5 separate regions of the Homo sapiens genome follow, and regions 2, 3, 4 and 5 are each linked to region 1. The links are contacts of gene promoters, found by promoter capture Hi-C in human tissues and cell types (Jung and others, 2019). All regions are on one chromosome and are shown on one strand. The core of a region is centred on a gene start or on the middle of the fragment in contact, and the rest is flanking DNA. Distances in the headings are between cores, read along the strand shown. Region 1 holds the start of PAX1 (paired box 1). Region 2 overlaps KIZ (kizuna centrosomal protein). Region 3 has its middle 71 kb from the start of LINC01432. Region 4 has its middle 33 kb from the start of LINC01432. Region 5 has its middle 26 kb from the start of LINC01432.

Region 1 (2,766 bases), core at 102-2,601:
GAGGGCCATGAGCGCGGGATGCTGACGTGGCCCGCCGTGCCCGGGACCCCGGGGTGGCTGCCCATCTTGGCGCCCGTGGGCGACACGGGACTGGGGTAGGGGTACTGGTAGATGTGGTTGTAGGGCAGCGTAGGCTGCGACGGCGGCTGCTTACTTGCCTCGTACGGTCCGGGCTGCGCCAGGCTGCCGATCTTGTTGCGCAGGATGCGGCTGATGGAGCTCACCGAAGGCACATTGTACTTGTCACAGACGCCGTCGGCCAGCAGCCGGTCGCGGATCTCCCAGGCAAAGATGCCAGGGTCTCCTTGCTTGTAGTCCCGGATGTGCTTGACCACGTTGGGAGTGGTGACGCGGGGCTTGCTCCCCCCGATGGCCCCGGGCAGAATGGAGCCGGTCTCGTTGTAGCGCGCCAGGATCTTGCTCACGCAGCCGTGGGATACGCGGAGCTGCCGACTGATGTCACAGGGTCGGATGCCCAGCTGCGCCAGCTCCACAATGCGCAAGCGGATGGCGTTGGGCAGGGGGCGGCCGTTGACGAACACACCGCCCAGCTGGTTCACCTCGCCATACGTCTGCTCTGCGGATGCGCCAGACAAGAGTGAGCCGGAGGGGGAGAAAACACCCGGCGGGTTAGCCAAGGGTCCCCACGCGGAGCGAGGGACTGCACCCAGGCGCACTTCCAAAGGTGACCTGTGGGTCCCCAGACAGCTCGGAGTCCAAGGGCAAACCGCCTGGGTCTGGCTTGGAGTGGGCAAGGGCGCAGAGGAGCCGCGGAGTGGAGCGCGGCGCATTGTAGCCCTCCGTGCCCTTTCGCGACTTTTAGCGCGTCTACTTGGAACACTCCCTTCCCAGACTTGCTCAACTGCCCCCTGAAGGCTGGGGATCAGAGGAGAATGCAGCTTCTCCAGGACCCAGGACTGGGTCGCCCAGGGAAAGCGGACGAGAGGGAAGGGAGGCAGGCGGACCCGACCCACCTCATCAGCCCTCCCGAGCCCTGCCTGTCGCCCGCCCCTTACCCATAGCGAGCGGGCCGGCCAGCTGCCTGGCGCCGGGGTGGCCGGGGTGGCCGGGGCTGGGCCCGGCGCAGTCCGGGAGAGCTTGGGCGCCGCCGCCGCCGCGTGAGAGGCATAGAGGGAGGGCGCCCGAGAGCCGAGAGCCGCGGCGGCCCAGCCGCGGGCTGGAGACGCGCTGTGCGCGGCAGCGGAGCGCGCTGCCGCCCGCTCCAGGGCCTGCCGCCGCCGCTGCTGCCCCCTCCCAGGACACTCTCCACGCCCGCGACCCCAGGCCCAGGGTGAACTTCATCCGATTGGGAGAAATTCGTCTGACCGGGAGGCTGCAGCGTGCGGGAATCAATTTGACGTGTCCTCCACGTCAATCTCGGCAGTCACGCCGGAGACGCGCGAGTTGGCAGCTCATTGGTTCCCGTCACTGCGCCCCAGCGCCCCCCTCCCCGCCCTGAAACTCTACCCCCTCCTTCTATCCTCCCCCCTCGGCCCTCTTCCACCACCCCCCCGGAACCCACCCCTCTACACACACACACACACACACACACACACACACACACACACACACGTCCCAACCCCAGCTGGGCCTGGGACCTTCCACTGCTCTGAGCCCCTTTCAGCCCCCTTCCTCCTCTAGCTTTGGGAATGAGGGGGAAGTCATCTCAAATTGATTAGTGTGTTAGTACTAGTACTCGTTTTCGTTTTGGTTTTAGTTTTATTTCCGCCACCATTAATAATAAGATAGAGAATAAAAGTTTATCGTGGAAAGGTGTTTCGGGTGTGGCTCTCTCTACCTCCCCACTCCCGGGGCAGCGGCCGGGGAAGGGTGGGATCAGTACCCCAGCTGGCTGGGAGTGTCAAGGTGAGCGTCCAGCGCGGTGCAGGGCTCCTGTCAGGAAGACACAAGGCGGAACTTGTGTCCCATTCCTGGCCAGGTCCTCAATCCTTCTCTCAGGAAATCTTCACGTTTAATAGCCAACCACTCTTGGAATAGTGGGGGTGATTTCGGTGATGCGAGAGGGGCACGGTCCAAATCCTGTCTCCTACAGCCAGGCCCAGCCACCAGAACTCATCCCTCTCCAAGCAGTGACAGAAGGGGCAGGAGGCAAAAGGATCCCGATCTGCTGCTAAGGGGCGCATAGATCCGGCGCCCTCCTGTCCCCAAGCGCGACCGGCGGGAGGCCAAATGCATAGCTCCAGCTCTAGGTCTGAAGGACAAGTTCCTTTCTCCCTGGCGGTGGAATCTCGCACCACTCTATCCCAGGTGGCCTGGCCTCGTCTTTCTCCCAGCACCTGCAGCTTCAGGAAGTCTCTGTTAAACCACAGAATGGTCATTTCTCCTTCATTTAAATGAGGTTTTGCGCAGCCCTGAATTATTCACCCCTGAGATTGAACATCAACAATTTCTCTGTTTCTACCCTGCACCAAAGCAGTTCTGAACTCCCCAACCTGTGCAGCTAACTGTGTCCGGGAGCCATGCGGTGAGGGCCAAGAGGAGGAAACTCGTGGTTTTGAACATGAACTGATTTGAGGGGGTCAGGATCTGAGAGCTCTGAGGTTGAGCCCAGTAAGCACCAAAGGCATTGGGCTGAATGTGCTAGACCAGGAAGAGGGCATAGGGGAGAGAGTAGGAACAGCCGAGGTTTCTGAGACTCCCAGCGCTCCCCTGGAGGAGAGAACCCTCTTCCCCTCCCTCCTGCCCACCCCAAGGGTCTAGCTCTCCTTAGCCACCCAGAGTTGAGTATGGCGCCAGCGCGGTGAC
Region 2 (2,766 bases), core at 123-2,622, 480 kb after region 1:
GGGTGTGGCTGGGGCATGGGTATGTTCTAAAACTCTACATGGGATTCTACCATGAACCGCTGGGGAGAATTTCTCTTGGCATTTATGAGTTCATCTCTCTGAATATAGAAGCATCCAGTCCAGAAGACCCTTCAGAAAAGTACCTTTTATCCTTTAATGACCATGTTAAATAAACAGCACTGCCCTGCAATATAATGAGGACTGTTTTGCTACCGCAAGTAGCAGGCAGCAGGCTCCATGGGTGAAGCCCCAGCAGGCTGACCCCTGGCACAGAGACAGGGCCACGTGGACTTTCAATGGACAATCCAGCAACACACAGTGGTTCCCCTGGTTTTGCACAAGCTGGGGGTTTCCCGTTCCAGGCACAACAGGTAATATGTCTTGACTGAGTCTTGTCAGGAAAATGCTTTGGGATAGGACAGGTGAAGCACATTCTCGGTAAAACCTCAGTACTAGTGGTGTTATGCCACTGTGCTTTGGGAGCCCAAAGTCATCACTACAGTCTTTCCTCCCAGGATAAATCCAGTCACCAGTGACAACCTAGCCACTATATCTTTCCAGCCCTTTTCCAAATTGATGTAAAACTCAAGCAATCATGTTTTGGGAAGCACTGCCTAGAACTCCAAGTGGCACCCTCCAAATCTATACTGACCTCCTGGAAAGACTCTAAATGGATGTCTTAGTATTACCCTGCATATTTCAGCTTGCCAAAGAATATCCACGAGGAATGGCACAGTCAGGCAACCACTTTCAACACAGCTTGACCAAGAGAATTGGTGTCAAAAGAATGAGAGTCTGAATGGACATTCTTAGAGGCTTAATCCTCTTGAGATAAAAGCTGAGAGCCCTTTTCACATGGAGCTTAAGGAGACTAGTTTTGCCAGGATGGGCACGTGGGGTGGGAAAAGTATTGGTGGAGTGCATGACTGAAAGAGATAGTATTCTATCCTGAATCATCAAGCATTTAAGAAAATTCCTTAATATCCCCATTTTTATTCATTTGACAAATTAAGTGCCCACTCTGTGCCAGATACTGTGCTAGGTGCTGTATTTTTATGACATTTAGCATAGCTGCATCATCTGCTAAAGCTAAAACTCACTTAATGCTGAAAGGTAAATTTAGTGTGAATACAAATAAAATTGTCAATGTGGGAAATTTTCACTTTGCGGATGTAAGTAGTTCAAAAGGCAGACTTTCTCTCCCAATCTAGATAAGCATCACTTTCCTCATGGCCTGAGTGTTTCAGGCAAACTGACCTACATAGTAGGTCAGGAAGTGTTTCAGGGAAACCGACCTCCCAGCAGCCCAGCTGGGCTCAGGTTTGCCCCACTTTATAAAAGGCCTGCCTCTCGGGATGAGCTGCATTTGAAAATCCTTGCATGCTGCCCACCTCTCCAGGCCTAACCCAAGAGAAAGGAAAGGCAAGCTTTGTTTATCATTGCTCTCAGAAGCAGCCTTGCAAAGCCCATCTTCTGTTATGATGTACACTGATGTTTAATTGATCCGGACATCCTGATGCAGTTGTCTTTTTGGTAAAATAAAAAAGGCAGGGTAGGCCGGGCGTGGCGGCTCACGCCTGTAATCCCAGCACTTTGGGAGGCCAAGGTGGGTGGGTATCTTTAGGCCAGGATGCGAGTACAGCCTGGCAAACGGGGCAAAACCGTCTCTATTAAGAATACAAAATTAGCCAGGCTTGGTGGAACATGCCTGTAATCCCAGCTACTCAGGAGGCTGTGGCACGAGAATCGCTTGAACCCGGGAGGCAGAGGTTGCACTGAGCCAAGATCGTGCCACCGCACTCCAGCCTGGGTGATGGAGTGAGACTCTGTCTCAAAAATAAATAAATAAATAATAAAAAAACAAAATAAATAAAAGAGGCAGGGCAGTGAAATGGAAGGAGTTCAAGAGCCCAAATCCTAAAGTCTGAGTTCAATTCAAGATCAAACACACCAGCTACATGGCCTTGAGCAGGATACCTTTCTAAGTTTCTGTCTGACCACTTGTAGGGTGAGTACTAATGTTTACCCTATAGGACTGTTGTAAAGGTTAGAGATGAGGGAGGCTTAGTGAGGGCAGGGATACCATCTTTTGTGGTTTCTGGTATCCCAGGATTCAGCCCACGTAAAAATATTAATTTTATTAACTAATATAATTAAGGATTTTATATATAATCATCTATAATGATATATGATATATAATATATAACTAATATATATTGTATCAATACATCTAATTATATACTACTTATTATATACAGAAAACCATACATTTATAGATATAAAAATTCATCTTTGATTTCCACCTGGATTCTTTAGTGAACAACAACTAGACTAATAAAAGGGGTAGATTATATTCACAACAACAGATCATACAGGCTATGGAATACTGACTCTGTGTTTGTGGGTGGGGCATCAGTGTGTGCCCAGGAGGGTTTCTATGTAAATCTAAACACAGAAAACTCGCATGCTCCATAATAACGATTAGCAAAGCAGATGCCTTCAAAGTGATAGCAGACTCTTTAAGGAGGAGCCCCAGCCAAGAAGACCTCCGTTTTGTGGTGATAAGCAAATGAGAAAGGGAAATGAAGAGATGAGAATGCTGGCACACTGGATTCCATTAGCATAGAGGAAGAAGCACAGTCCCTTGGCATTAGAAGGAATGTCAGGGGTCACAGAAGCAATAATTCCTTCCACAATGCTCTTTTAAAGAGCCACAGGGCCAGGCAAGGTGGCTCATGCCTATAATCCCAGAACTCTGGGAGGCCA
Region 3 (2,766 bases), core at 185-2,684, 420 kb before region 1:
GACTGCCAGCATTCATGAGCTCAGCTGCAGGGGTCAGCTGTGGGAGCATGCAGAGAGTGCTCTTGCCCTCTCTCTCTCTTCTTGCCTTGAACAAGGGCATAATGGCCAGCTTATTGCCATATTGAAAACATCATAAGAATCTCAGAGAATTTATTTTTTACAGAAATAAACTAAAGAAAGAGCATCAGCAACCATTTATGTTTTGACTTCTTGTTTTGTGAGGGAAAGAAAATGGCATTGTAGTCATCTGAAAGGATTCATAATTGATAAGTGTGTGTAATGATCAGAACAGATGGTCCTATCCATAGAAAAGAGTGAATAAATAGATGCAGGTACAACTGGGAACTTTTATGATAAGGTTGTTTCAAATCAGTGGTAATAAATTAAAACAAGTTCATAGCCAGTTGAAGGAAGGAAAATAATAAGATTTACCTTGCTTTTTTTTTTTTTTTTTTGAGACAGAGTCTCACTCTTGTTGCCCAGGCTGGAGTGCAGTGGTGCAATCTCAGCTCACTGCAAACTCCGCCTCCCAGGTTCAAGCAATTCTCCTGCCTCAGCCTCCTGAGTAGCTGGGATTACAGGCATGCACCACCACGCCTGGCTAATTTTTGTACTTTTAGTAGAGACGGCATTTTGCCATGTTGGCCAGGCTGGTCTCGAACTCCTGACCTCAGGTGATCCACCCACCTTGGTGTCTCAATGTGCTTACTAAGCAAAAATGAGGAAATGTTTATTTCTTCTTCAATGCTCCTCCAACATGTAGAAAGAAATCTTTGCCTTAATGTTCACTTTTTAAATAGTTATAACTGCAGGCCAAGTGTTGAAGAAGTAAATTGGGAATATTATATTGGCTTATTGTGCTTTTAAAATTATAGTCCCCTTTATTAACCTTTATTAACCACAAATTGAATTTGTATTACACACAAAGATGAATCAGCATTTCCCTGAAGTGAAACCAACAATGAAATAATTTTTGTTGTATTTATAGTTTTGAAACAAAGAAGTGCATCTTTGTGTTTTCCTTTTCTAGTTTTCCTAACAGTATTATTCAATCCTTATAAAATGACTTGCGTGGCTTCACTTTTTTTCAGTTAAGCTATAATGAGACATATATGTTTATTGAATTGGTGCTGAAAGTTACTGGAAAAACCATGTGGGTCTGATGCCTTTGGGAATAAGATACTGATTACCATTTCAATTTGTATTAATACTTGTTTTATGGTTGTGAAGACTAATCATGGCATTTACACTTTCCTAGAAAATTGTCCATTGCATGGGCTTTTAACCTACTGGCATACAGTTGTTCATATCAATTCATAGTTTCTAAAATACTTCATTATATGTTTGTGCTCCATTATTTTTTCCTGATATTGTTTGTTTATATTATTTCTCACTCACTTTCTCTCTCTCACTCTCACTCTCTTTCACCATCAAAACATTTGTCTGTTATACTGGTCTTTAAAAATAGTGTTTAGTCTTAACGATCCACTCTACTTTTTATTTGCCACTTAATTACTTTTGTCTTTTATTTTTATTTCCTTCTTTCTATTTGGTTTAGATTTTGTATTGTTCCTTTTTTTCACCTTTTGGATTTGAATATTAGTTAATTAATCATAAATTTGTCCCTTAATTACAGCTTAAGGGTGCATACTATTGGTTCTAATATACAGCAGTCTGTTTTAAATATTTTATAACATTTCCTTAGATTTACTGTTTAATAATTTTTGAAGAAATGAGTCTTATAATTTCTCAAGGGTGTTTTGACTATTATATTTGTGTTCTAATTTTATGTATTTTGTGGTGAATATTCTCTCCGCAAAGCCCATCTAAACATGAGAAAAATATCAGAGAAACCCAAATAGTAGGATATACGATATTCTGACCAGTATACATGAGAACTGACAAGGTCATTAAAATCAGTGAAAATCTGAGAAACTATCAAAGTTCAGAGGAGACTAAGAACACATGAAAACTCAATGCAATGTGGTATCTTGGATGGAATACTGGAACATAAAAAGGACATGGGAAAAACTAGTAACATTTGAATTAATTGTGGAGTTTATTTAATAATAATACACTGATGTTGTTTCATTACTTTTGACAAATTTATCATTGTAACATAAAATGTTAACAACAAAAGAAACTGGGTGAACATTATATGGGAACTCTCTACGGTAGATTTGCAACACTGCTATAAATCTAAGACTATTCTAAAAATTGCTTACATTTTAAGATAGCTAAACAAAGCAGAACAAAAACGCTCCTGGGGTTTTTTCCCCCACTCAGCATACAATATGCCCATGTCCCTATCACGTCTCTCTGTCCCTGTTATCTTGACCTTTTTGCACAATACTTTCTCCTTTGCTCATTTTACTCTACCCCACCCTCATGGACCTTTTTCTTGTTCCTCCAGCATGCCAACTATGATGACTCTGCAGGACATGTTCACATGTTGTCTCCAGAATCCATGCATCTTACTCCCTCAAACTCTTTATACTTTTATGCAAATGTTCATTTTGAAGTGATGTATGTCTGACCACTTTATTTTAAAGTACAACTTACCTAAGTCTTCTCCTTATCCTTGTATCCCATTTCTTTTATTTTTCTTTCATAACATTTATGACTTCCATCTAACCCCCGCCCCCACCACAAACACACACAATTTTCTTTATTGTCTGTCTGCACTAATTAAACATAAATTTCATTAGGGTAGCAATCTTTTTATGTTTTATTCACTGATGTATCATTAAGTCCTATAAAACATCT
Region 4 (2,766 bases), core at 160-2,659, 380 kb before region 1:
ATATAAACAGCATACCCTTCTGCCTGGGCAAAAGAGACTTCTGCCATATGCGTATACTTTAAAGTATACGCCCCAAATATCACACCAAAAAAAGCCCAAGTTAATAAATATAGGGCACCTTAATCAGAACATGACCCTAAGCAGCCACCTTAGGACTAATGTAGTTGAGGCCCCAGGTAAATGCTTCTCTCCATTTTTTGCCTTATGTCTTCAAAGCAAAGGGTGACTGCATGGAAAGGCAATGAAGATCTGCATGCTGTGCTTCTGTCAACGTTAGAGATAGACATGGCTTCAGAACACAGAGAGTTTTAAGCAGTGGAAGCATTTAGTCAAAATAAGTAAGTACAAGACAAAAATTAATTTTCTCTCAGAAAACATAATGACAGCAAGTCCTTGGGTAACAAAACATCATTTTCCAGTGGTGCCAACCATTCATTTTCTTGTTTTCTGTGTGCTACCAGAAGTATTCATGGATTTTCACATTATTAGCAATATTTGCATTTTTGTTAGGGAATATTTACAATATTAACAATAAATACTACTTTTAAATATATAAGTATATAATGCACATAATTACCCATATATATGTATACATATATATCCACACAGACATGCAGGTGCAATTCGTTACATTTGGGATTTAGATGAACGTTGAATACATCAATTCCAAGAATTGCAAATAACCTACTTTTGGTTATTTGATGCACATACGACCAACTTTTTACTTAATATGGCATTGTGAATATTATCTTTTATCACATAATATCTAACTAATTCTCTATTTTTGGACCTTTATATTTTCACCCTTTGCTTCCATAATTAGGGATGAGATAAACAGTGTTACCATCAAAGTTCTACAAGTATTCATGGGATAATATTCTAGAAATTATTTGCTGAGTTAAAGGAAACATAAAATTTTAGTGTGGGCTGTATTACAGTAATCAGTAATTATTTTAGTTTAATAAGCTTAATAAACATTTCAGTAAATGTGTCATAATTAGAGCATCTCATGAATAGCATTCTATTGTCTTTTTAAATTTTTCAGATAAATAACCAAATTTAATACATCAAAGAAGCAATCATGAATGTCAGACAATCAAATTATATCTCAGAAAATGCCTACAACTTTAGTTGCTCTAAAAAAGTGGGCATTCTTAGTCAACCATGAATCTTTTTAAAAAGATGTCCCACACACTTGGACAAAATATATACACACATGTTACATGAGCATGCATTTGTGTTTATTTATTCATTTATTTGTGAATGATTATTATAATACATACTTTGGAAAGACATTTGAGTGAGTAGTTACACCATAAAAATATGCCATGGCTTGGAGGATTTCTCCCATTTGAAGCCTCTGTAGTTCAAAGAGAGAATCTATGATTTGGGTAAATATTCATTTACAAAAAGAAACCAACAAAAACAAAATTTTTTTCTTATGATTTCTTTTTAAAGTCAAGTTTACTTTAAGTGAAAACACAATAAATATTTGGTAATAGGGAGCAGACCCAAAGTTACAGAATAAAAACTATTTAATACCAGATAACAAAACAGAGTCGTCAAAGGAAAACTCATCTTAAACTATTTATAGCATAACCTTGCCCATCTTATAAAGGCTTTTATGTGATACTTGGTTATTCATGTGATTCCTACCAACATATGTGTTTATGTTATTTTGAAGGAAACTATTCAACCAATTATATTGTTCAATTCATCTATTAAGCTTTAATGTTCTTTTACACAAAAATGTTTTTGACAAATTGGCCAGTATTTGATCTACAGTTTATATTTTGCTACTTTTTTGCAGGGAAAATTAATATTTATCTTCATGTAACACTTTACTGAACAGAACTAATAAACACTCAACAGGAGTTTCAAACTGAAGTATATATGAGATTCAAATACATTAAACAGAATTCTTTCAAAAACTTGCCAATTCACAGGTCATGTGGTTTAAATTTTTACATATGAATTTGACACTCAGCACTCTAACTTAAGCATCATAAATATGCAGAAATAGTGCACAGTATACAAAATTGGGAAGTTGCTTTCTCTCTTATGTCCATGGCCCACTCTATTAATTACACTTTGTCTTCAAAAATCTCTCTGATCTCATGCCACTGACTGAGAAATCCCCTAGTTAAATGAAACTCTAGAAGGTCATTAAAGAAGACCTCCATTTGTCACCTCATACTGTAGCTTTTAGCCTCTTCTTGGACTGTTTAAAAAATATGCTGGTGGTGACTCTAGTTCAAGTTAGGCCTCACCTGAGGCCACAAATTGTGGAGAGTCAATAATCAGTAAAGCCCACTGAGTTATAATTTGACTCAGGGAGCCCTACAACCAGAACCCAAGAACTGAGCTGACACAGGCCTACTTGGGACAACTGTTGATATGGGCATGAGGCTGTGGGAGTGCAATAGGGAAGGAGTGTTCATTTTTATAAGAAAAGCTGGTGTGAGTATTCTGTTCCTAGATGACTCAGGATTTTATCTGAATCCTAAGAAATTTTTCTGCTATAGGACCTTGGTTTCCCAAAACATCTCTAGAAGACAAATGGTTGTTCCTAATTATTGTCCTGAAATTTAGGACTCCCTTCTAACCTGGCTCCACTGTGCCCATGGCTGCTTATACTTGTTCTTGGCCTTTTTTGAAGCTTTTTTCGTTTAACCCTAAATTAGTTTCAGACTTCACTAGAATTGGAAAAGTGAAATGACTCTAGATGCCCCTCAGTCCTGCTAATGATAGCTGAATAGAAATGTC
Region 5 (2,766 bases), core at 182-2,681, 320 kb before region 1:
TTTTATCAAATTATTGTATCAAAGCTCTTTGTTAATATCTTTTTTATGAAGCTTTGTCAAACTTTAAGAATCCCAAAAGTTTTTCCATTTCATAATATACTCAATCAAAATTTTGTTTTTAACCTTTTAATGTTAGCTTGCTTTCTGAAATAATGTCCAGGCTGCACTCCTCCCTCCCACCTCTCAGTCTACCCCCAAGCCCTCCTGCATCCACATAGAGTCTGTGGCCGTAAAACTTGAACAATGGAGTTACACTGGCCTCGTTTCTGGTCTCATCTTTCTTTTAAATGGCTGCAGGATCTTCAGAAAATTTGCTGAACTTCACTATTAGCCCACTACTTGCTTCGCTGCACAATGAGGATAATGCTAGTTCCTAAGCACACATAGGTAAGGCACTTAGCACAAGCCAGGTACCTGGTAAGCACCCAATAAATGTAATGTTACTGTTATCAACCACCACTTAATTATACACAAGAGAAGTACAGCTACTCTATAGCCACAGAGGAGGTTGTTTCCAACTATATCTGGATGACAGAACTTTGTGATGGAAGTGGACATGGTAAGTAATCACAAAGATGTCTGCCCAAGAGACTACCACCCTTGGTATGTATTACGTCTGTTTAGCACAGTCATCTGTTATCTTTTTTCCTTCTTTCTGTCCTGCAAGGCTGCTGATAAATTCACCAGATTTGCTCAGGGATTGTCAGCTAGAGCTCACAAAACTACTAATCTATCAGCGCTCTGGTTGGATACTTCAAAATGGATGTGAGCACATGTATAAGGCAGAGCTACATTTATAAACAGGTCATCTTGTAAATGTTAACATTTGCAATTGAGGTTATAGTTCCCTTCACTTATCATTCATTATAAGAACAATTAAAATGTTTATTTCTCTCATCTACGGCTATTTCTTGAGGTGATTTATATCAAATAGTATAATCCCCAACCAGAAAGATGGGCCTGCACACACGTGGTTTTGGCTCTCACATTACAATTGATAACCTTCAAAATGTTTTGTGTAATAATTTCACAACAGCTCAACTGAGAAAAAATTTTCATTTGCATTGTTCATGAATAAATTATTTGCCAAATGTGGGAGTAAAAATGGATCCAAAACATTTTGAAAAACTAAACTATTTGTCAGTATTAGTTAAAGCAAAACATACACGTACCCTATATCTCAGCAGAACAAAATATGTATGTTCCAACAAAAAAAAAAAACATAAGAGGACTTATTTCAGGATTATTTGAAATGACTGCAAACTAGAAAATACCCAAAAGTTGATCAATAGTAAAATAAATAAAGATATTGTGCTATAGTAATAAAATTGAATACTATACGGCTATGAGCATGAATGAACTCCAACTACCTACAACAAAGTGGATGAAATTCACAACCTGTTGCGTAACAAGAGCCTTATACGAAGGATATATACTGTATAAATAGCAAAGCTAATCCACATATTAGAAGTCAAGATAGTGGTTACTATTTGGAGGGCTCTGTCTGGAAGACGGCAGAGGTGATGGTGCTTCTGGGGGCTGATGAGATTCTGTCTCTTAATTTAGGTGCGGGTTATGCAAGAGTATTCGACTATTCGACTTGTGAAAATGCATTGAGCTGTAAACTAGTGATTTGTGCACTTTTCCTTTAAAAATTCTATTTAAAAATTTCACTGATGGACCTCTGGTATCATGGCCCCAGGGTTAACCTGGTTTTCTCTGTTTGCTGCACTATTTGACTGACCCAGCCACAGAGCATTGCTCACCAGCCTTCATGAGTGTCAACACTGTGGTCTTGACCTTTGACTATCTTCCATCCCCACCTAATAAGCTACCAGAAGTGTCAAAGCAACAACCCAACAAAGAAATAAGCATGTAGTCTTTTTGGTATTAGAAAAATCTACAGGAGTAAAACTACTGCAAGCTTTAAAGATGATTTAATGGCTTTATAATAGTTTTTTGTTTTGTTTTTGTTTTTGTCTACTCTGCAGTTTTCACCACCATTTTTCTGTTGGTGTCGTGGAGACAGGATGAAATTTATGCAGCTATCAGTCAAACACTAGTCAGACAAAATTGATGGGGCATTGAAAGTGGTAAAATTCACATTCTTGGACAGCAGAGGAAAATATGGTGGATAGGAGGCAGGACTAAATTGCAGCTCCCTAAATTGCAGAGCAGAGTGTGGAGACTCACATCATGAAGTTTTGCTCCAAGAACTACTGCAGGAATATACCAGGAAAGCCAAGAAAATCCACAAACCCTTTGAAGAAAGCAGATTACTTCTGCAGGACCTGAGAGACAGCCCAAATACTGTGAGTTCCCAAACTGTGAAAGTGGGAAAGGGAGATTGTCCACCCCCAAACACACACCCTCACTGGGAAACCTGAAAGGCCAGATCACAGGCGAAGGATTTGACCTTACCTGGAGCTGAGACAATTTAGAGAGCTGAGCAAAATACAGGGTAGAGGAAGCAGCAGGAAAAGCCCCGTGGGATTTCTGGGTCCCCAGGGAAGCCATTTCTGACTTGTCTCATAGGCGTCCTTGGGGAGGGCTACCAGGGGAACTTGGAAAAGACCACAGGGAGAAGGAAACCTCTAGACAAACTTGGTAATAATTCCAACCAAACATGAAGCTTCCTGACCAGAACTCAGTGGATGGCGTGAATCTTGTGGGCAGACTCAACAGGCAGGGAAGCGCAAAAGCCTTGCCTGCTCTCTCAGCTGGGAGGCTGGTAGCCCGGGGCAAGTTCTCAGCACTGCTTACCCA

The links. The method cuts DNA at HindIII sites, captures the fragments that hold promoters and counts their contacts. A contact is called where the count stands out against the background at its distance.
Region 2: a fragment that was not itself captured here is called in contact with the fragment with the promoter of PAX1 in region 1 in 1 of the 25 tissues and cell types used here (stomach).
Region 3: a contact is called between a fragment that was not itself captured here and the fragment with the promoter of PAX1 in region 1, in 3 of the 25 tissues and cell types used here (aorta, dorsolateral prefrontal cortex and stomach).
Region 4: a fragment that was not itself captured here is called in contact with the fragment with the promoter of PAX1 in region 1 in 1 of the 25 tissues and cell types used here (hippocampus).
Region 5: a fragment that was not itself captured here is called in contact with the fragment with the promoter of PAX1 in region 1 in 2 of the 25 tissues and cell types used here (lymphoblastoid cells and spleen).

The regions. Positions count from the first base shown.
Region 1 is chr20:21,704,249-21,707,014 of GRCh38, reverse strand. It overlaps PAX1 (paired box 1), which reads right to left and starts at 1,351. Exons shown (of 5, transcript NM_001257096.2): 1 at 1,017-1,351; 2 at 1-577. The coding sequence starts at 1,302. The HindIII fragment of the contact is 9,805 bases long and covers 1-2,766 here.
Region 2 is chr20:21,219,569-21,222,334 of GRCh38, reverse strand. The region is part of intron 9 of KIZ (kizuna centrosomal protein); the gene reads right to left. Among named protein-coding and RNA genes, the nearest start is that of KIZ-AS1, 2.7 kb to the right of the region's middle. The HindIII fragment of the contact is 4,951 bases long and covers 1-2,766 here.
Region 3 is chr20:22,124,159-22,126,924 of GRCh38, reverse strand. No RefSeq gene overlaps it. Among named protein-coding and RNA genes, the nearest start is that of LINC01432, 71 kb to the right of the region's middle. The HindIII fragment of the contact is 5,203 bases long and covers 1-2,766 here.
Region 4 is chr20:22,085,220-22,087,985 of GRCh38, reverse strand. No RefSeq gene overlaps it. Among named protein-coding and RNA genes, the nearest start is that of LINC01432, 33 kb to the right of the region's middle. The HindIII fragment of the contact is 3,134 bases long and covers 1-2,766 here.
Region 5 is chr20:22,026,850-22,029,615 of GRCh38, reverse strand. No RefSeq gene overlaps it. Among named protein-coding and RNA genes, the nearest start is that of LINC01432, 26 kb to the left of the region's middle. The HindIII fragment of the contact is 4,150 bases long and covers 1-2,766 here.